2 separate regions of the Homo sapiens genome follow, and region 1 is linked to region 2. The links are contacts of gene promoters, found by promoter capture Hi-C in blood cells and fetal thymus (Javierre and others, 2016). All regions are on one chromosome and are shown on one strand. The core of a region is centred on a gene start or on the middle of the fragment in contact, and the rest is flanking DNA. Distances in the headings are between cores, read along the strand shown.

Evidence for each region. Contacts are between HindIII fragments. The CHiCAGO score rates a contact against its expected background, and 5 or more counts as called.
Region 1: the fragment with the promoter of NAA20 here is called in contact with a fragment that was not itself captured in region 2 in 1 of 17 cell types (non-activated CD4 T cells); the score reaches 5.4 in non-activated CD4 T cells.

Annotation. Positions count from the first base shown.
Region 1 is chr20:20,016,112-20,019,193 of GRCh38, reverse strand. NAA20 (N-alpha-acetyltransferase 20, NatB catalytic subunit) reads right to left here and starts at 1,832. Exons shown (of 6, transcript NM_016100.5): 1 at 1,745-1,832. The coding sequence starts at 1,797. RefSeq lists enhancers at 1-569, 1,031-1,531, 2,146-2,325 and silencers at 1,586-1,705, 1,756-1,825. The HindIII fragment of the contact is 8,583 bases long and covers 1-3,082 here.
Region 2 is chr20:17,963,957-17,966,751 of GRCh38, reverse strand. All of the region lies in intron 1 of SNX5 (sorting nexin 5), which reads left to right. Among named protein-coding and RNA genes, the nearest start is that of SNORD17, 2.4 kb to the right of the region's middle. RefSeq lists an enhancer at 463-542. The HindIII fragment of the contact is 815 bases long and covers 940-1,754 here.

The DNA of each region.
Region 1 (3,082 bases), core at 583-3,082, 2.1 Mb before region 2:
CATCATTTCTCTCTGCCCACCTATCAATCCTAGATCCACTTTTAAAAACAACAGGGCAGTAAGTGAAAACGAAAAACCAAGTGGTTCCGATTCAAGGGTCAGGAGGATAGAAAGGACTATGGGATGAGATGGCTGGGAACACTTTAAAGAGAGGGTGAGCCTCTCCAGAGGCTCCAGGTGGGTTAAGACCCACTCCAGAGCAGTGGATCGCAAACGGAATGTGCGTTTCTAACATGGTCCCCTGACCACAGGCACCAAGTCTTTCAGAACCACTGCTCCAGAGCCAATATCCTTGGATGAAGTTCCTCGCTTTACTCATTCTCACCTGGGCCAATTCACTTGTGCTTGCCATGCCTTGGTTTACTCATACACAAAATGGGGGTGACAGCACCTCAAAGAATCGTGAGGATTAACTGGATTATTACGTGGGCACTCAGAACAATGCAGGGAACAGTGAGTTCAACACAAGTCACCGTAGCTACCAGACTGGCCCAACAGAAAATTCTTTCCACAGGATCAAGTCTAAACCCCTCCTGTTTCACCCATTTCTTCCTGACTGCTCAGTGGCAGAAACCAGCCACTAGATTCGCACTGATCCCAGTTGTCTGACCGCACTTCAAGTTTCCCCATTTTCATGCCCCGCTCCTTCTCCGGAACTTCCGTCTTCCTCACTTACCAATGTGTTATCCATCTTCAAGGCTCACCCCCTCTTTGAAATGTTCCCAGCCATCTTATCCCATAGTTCTTTCCATCTTCCTGACACTTGAATCGGAACCACTTTGTCCTTAGTTTTCACATACCGCCCTGTTGTTTTTTTAAAGTGGATCCAGGACTGATAGATGGGAAGGAAGGAGAGATACCAGCGTAGCAAAATGTTAACTGCAGAATCCAGGAAAAGTGTCTATAAAAGCACATGGTGAAATTCCTCCAACTTTTCTAAATGTGTGGGAATCTTCATAATAAAATGTTTTCTTAAAAAAAAAAAATTGGTACCTGCAAATCAGAGGTCTGGCCTTAACTCGAATCCAAAGAAACTGCATCCAGGGCTCTGGGCACAGCGAGCCTCCCCTAAGATCTGCCGTGACTCCTCACAGAGGAAAGGTGTGTACACCGGGGTGCGCAGCTACAGTAACTAAACTTGCAAACACTAACCATGACTGAGACAGCATCTGCTGCAGGGGACGCAGTGATCAGTGTCATTTCATTTGGATACAATTTAACCACGGCCACCAGGTGGGCTTCACGATGTACACATCCCAACAGCTGCTGACCAGCTTCCGATCCTCGCAAGCCCCCTCTGCGGCCTGGCCGTCGGCGGTGCCCTCTGCCCAGAAGAGGCGCGGCCCGGCCACGAACCAGCAAGCAGTAGGGCAGGGCGAGAAGCCCAGGTCGTGGGCTCCAGGCCGCGTCTCCAGCTCGCCCCATCACCCCAGCGCCTCCTGACAGCGACCACGAGCGGAGGCCCGAGCGCTGCCCCAGAACCTGCCAGCTCGCAGGGTCCAGAGACAAAGTTTGAGCACCTCGGCCAAGGTCGCCAAGGCCGGCGTGCGTCGACTCCAGGCCCACCTCTCCCTGGACCCTGTGGCCCCAGGGAGGCGCCCACGTTGGCCGGCGGGGGGTGGTTCTCGCGGGTCCCCGTCCGGGCTTGGGGTCCGGCCGGGAAGGCGCGGCTGGGGCCGGAGCTGGCGGGGCCGGGAAGCGAGGCCCGGCCAAGAGCGGCTGGCCCTAGGCGCGTGTCACTCACATGTTGTTGAAGCGGAACAGGTCGTCGCAGGTAAAGGCCCGTAGCGTGGTCATCGCGCCGCCGCCGCTTCCGAAGACCGTTCGCCAAGACCCCGCGCCCGCCCTGCCGGAAGTCTCCCGGAGCGTGGCCGCCGCGGAACCGAGCGAGACGGGGTACTGCTTCCGGGCTACGAGTTGCTGGGCAACGACAGCAGCAAAGCAGCTTCCTCTGGCGGCCGGCGGCGGGAATTGCCAGGTCGCTCCTGTAAGGCCTCCGGGGCTGTGGCTGCCCAGAACCTCGGAACCCCTCCCAGGCAGCGGCTGCAGAAAGCAGGCGGCGACACCTGGGAAGGAAAGAAGCTGCTGGTGATGCGGAAACCCAAGCAGAAGAGCGGAGTTCGCAGCCACCCGGTGCTGCAGAGTAAATGAGGAATGGGAGAATTTATGACCCAGAATCCCTTGTCCCAGTGTTGCGAGTTGCAGATGTCATCTTAAAATGTCAATACCACGTTTAAAAACAAAAAGAAGGCCGGGCGCGGTGGCTCACGCCTGTAATCCCAACACTGGGAGGCCAAGGCGGGCAGATCACTTGAGTTCAGCAGTTCGAGACCAACCTGGCCAACATGGCGAAACCCCCTCTCTACTAAAAAAAAAAAAAAAAGGAAAGAAATAAAAATTAGCTGGGCGTGGTGGCACGCGCCTCTAATCCCAGCTACTTGGAGGCTGAGGCAGGAGAATCGCTTGAACCCAGGAGGCGGAGGTTGCAGTGAGCCGAGATCTCGCCACTGCACTCCAGCCTGGGCGACAGAGCTAGACTTGGTCTCAAAAATAAATAATAAATAAATAAAAGCAAAACGAAATGTAAAATTGATTTTGATAGTACGCTTTATTTTACCCATTTATTTTTCCTATTTGGGAAAAATATTTTTCCCTGACCCCACTTTATTATACCCGAAATATCATTTCAACATGTAACCAATCAATACTCAACATGTAATCAATCAATAAAAAAAGGAATGTGATATGTTACATTCTTTTTTGCAAAGACTTTGAAATCCGGTGTGTATTTTACATTTGCAGTGCATTTCAATCTGAGAGAGCAGCTGTCATCGGAAATGCTTGTTCTCTATTTAGATTTCATCAATGTATGGTTAAAAAGCAGATTCTCATATCCAAGCGGTTCCAAATATACTGTTTTCAAATCGCTGAACCAAACATCAGTTTTTAAATTTAAAGTAGTTAAAATTAAAAGTTAAAAATTCCTTTATTCAGACCAGACACAGTGGCTCACACCTGTAATCCCAGCTACTTGGGAGGCTGAGGTGGGAGGATCATTTGAGCCCGGGAGGTAGAGGTTGCT
Region 2 (2,795 bases), core at 98-2,597:
TTTTGTGTGTTACCTGAAATGTGTGTTACTTAAATTGTTTAAATGCCCTCCTGATAATTTACTTTGGTTTGGAATTCTCCCTAAGGATGGAGTTAATTAAGACTCACTAAGGTAGGGGGACATACTTGATTCTTCAGGATTTTGAATTCTAGCCCAATACTCATTTTGGCCAATTCAGCAAAACTGAAAGGGAATACTGTGTCAGTCGTGTCTGGTAGCCAGACACTGGCATTTTGTTACATTCTTTAGCCGAGGGTGTTGGGGTTTGCCTTCTTCCTCAGAAAATAGTTCAGGGGAAGAGATGCATGGTTAATTTGGTTCCTAACTGGTCCTCTATTTACTGGTTTTTGATTTTTTTTTTTTTTTTGAGACGGAGTCTCGCTCTGTCGTCCAGGCTGGAGCGCAATGGCTCGATCTCAGCTCACTGCAACTTCCGCTTTCTGGGTTCAAGCGATTCTCCTGCCTCAGCCTCTCAAGTAGCTGGGATTACAGTCGCTCACCGCCATGCCCGGCTAATTTTTGTATTTTTGTGGAGACCGGGTTTCACCATGTTGGCCAGGCTGGTATTTGAACTCGACCTTCGCAGCCTAGTGCTATTTTTAACTAGGGGGTTCTCCTTCCTTGACAGTAACAACTTGGCCTTAACTTACTGCTTGGTTACAGGGACTTTGGTGAATGATATCTGTCCTCTTACCTACTCAGGAGTGTTTGTAGACTAAGTACTGCTGCTCTGGTTTCGTGTTTAACTGGTGTGGAAGCTGCCTCTAGGGGTATTTTTGTTCTCCATTAGCTAGAATGGAGTGCAGTTGGTTAGTATAGGAACAATCCTGAACTTTGACCAATACCATAGCAAGTCCAAACTTACAAACTTTGTGGACTGAAGCTTTATGCTACCCTTGCAACTATTTTCTAAGTTGAGGAAGTATGACGTATCAAGCTTCCCACGCCTTAGTTCTAGTTCAGTAACTTGTACTCGGTGTCTTAAGATCCCCATTTGTGAATACTCTAAAAGGTCATTATCTGTTCACATTATTTTGGCCATAGGTAGAAATGGCCAAGAGGCTTTTTTTTTTTTTTTTTTGAGACAGGGTCTGGCTCTGTCACCCAGGCGGGAGTGCAGTGTCACGATCACAACTCACTGCAGCCTCGACCTGGGGAGCTCAGGTGATCACCCCCACCTCAGCCTCCTGAGTAGCTGGGGCTACAGGCACACACCAGCATGCCCACCTAATTTTTGTATTTTTTGGTAGAGATGGGGTTTCACCATCCAGTTCAACATGCCGGGATTACAGGCATGAGCCATTGTGCTTGGCCAAGGCTGTTAAGTTTTCTAGATTTGTTTCTGAGCTGTAAACTCCTCATTCGGTGAGACCTAGTGGTCATCTAAACTAGAGGTTGAGTTTAAAATTCAGTTTCTCAACCTGGGGAGCACTGTTGACATTTTAGCCTGATCACTTTTGTTGAGGAGTGCCCTCTGGGTTGTAGGATGTGAAGCAACTGTTTTTGGCCTCTGCTAGGACGCGGCCTCCTCCCCTCCCATGGTGATAAGAAGTCAAAATTGCCTGTTTGAGAATCACTGGTTTAAACGGACTTCCTTCTAAAATGGTGTGATATGGGTGGGGTCAGGTTGTGTTACAGAAGCTAGTCTTTGTGTGCTTGTTGCGAATTTTTCAGGTTTTCTATTAATCTTGCCTAAGGAAATAACATGCCATGTAAAAATTAGCATTGTTGGATATCTTTGTGAGAATAAAGCTTTTCCACTAATACTGAGGAACCTTAACAAAAGGTGGTGAAAGATGGTTTTCTTCAGCAGGTTCTGGGTACTTGAGGGTTGCAAAGGGAGGGCTTCGTGTTTGTGTTTGTGAGTGTAGGCTTTGGACACTGGAAACTTACCTGAGTTTCTTGTGCTGCAGAGGGGAACTTGGTTTAAAATTCTGCTGTTTCAGCATTTTTCTGTCTTTATTATCAGGGTCTTGATGCTCGAGCAAATTAGGTGAGAACAGATCTATAGGTTAGTACCCTGAATGTCTTAAATAGCCCGTGGTCACAACAGTGTGTAGTGAAGTTAAATAGTATTTAAGGAAACAGTCTAACTTTTAATGATCCCAATAGTGAGAAACGGCTATTAAAGTGTAAATTAAGTTTCTCTGCATGATCTAACTTTCCAAAAAGTGGCTTCTTCACCCTTAATACCTGTTTTCTGATTGGCCATTGAGGTACTCTGACAAGATCTCCTAAAAGAGATCTTCACACCTTCACATGCTGCCTAAAGGCAAACCATAGTACCCCAGGAGGAGTAAGTTGCAGTTTGAGGGGCAGCCAACACTTAAGTTTAAAAATGGGGGTCCTTGGCTTGACTCTTCTTTTTACATTTTGGCATAACTTTTTTAGGCATTCCTATATGGTCTGGAGAGAAAACTAATTTTCTGCCTGAAAAGCTCAGTTTCTGAAGGGCACACTCCTAAGCATTCTAGTCATGGTAAATGGTGAGGAATACAAATCCAGATGGCTCCCTTGTCAGGGTTTTCACTTTTTCTTTCAAGAGCACCGCAGAGCTAGGACATTGTGCTGTTAGATACTTGGTAGCTGGTGGGTGATAAAATGTTGGACTTCTTCCCTCACCCTTCCTATATCTTTCATGAATTTTGTTTTGAATTCTTGTATTTATTTTGTTTAGAATTCTTTTTCTCAAGACAGTCTTGCTGTGTTGCCCAAGCTGGTATCGAACTCCTGAGCTCAGGCCATCTTCCTGCACTCAGCCTCCTGAATGGGCCCCTGGTCTGAGTATTGGAATA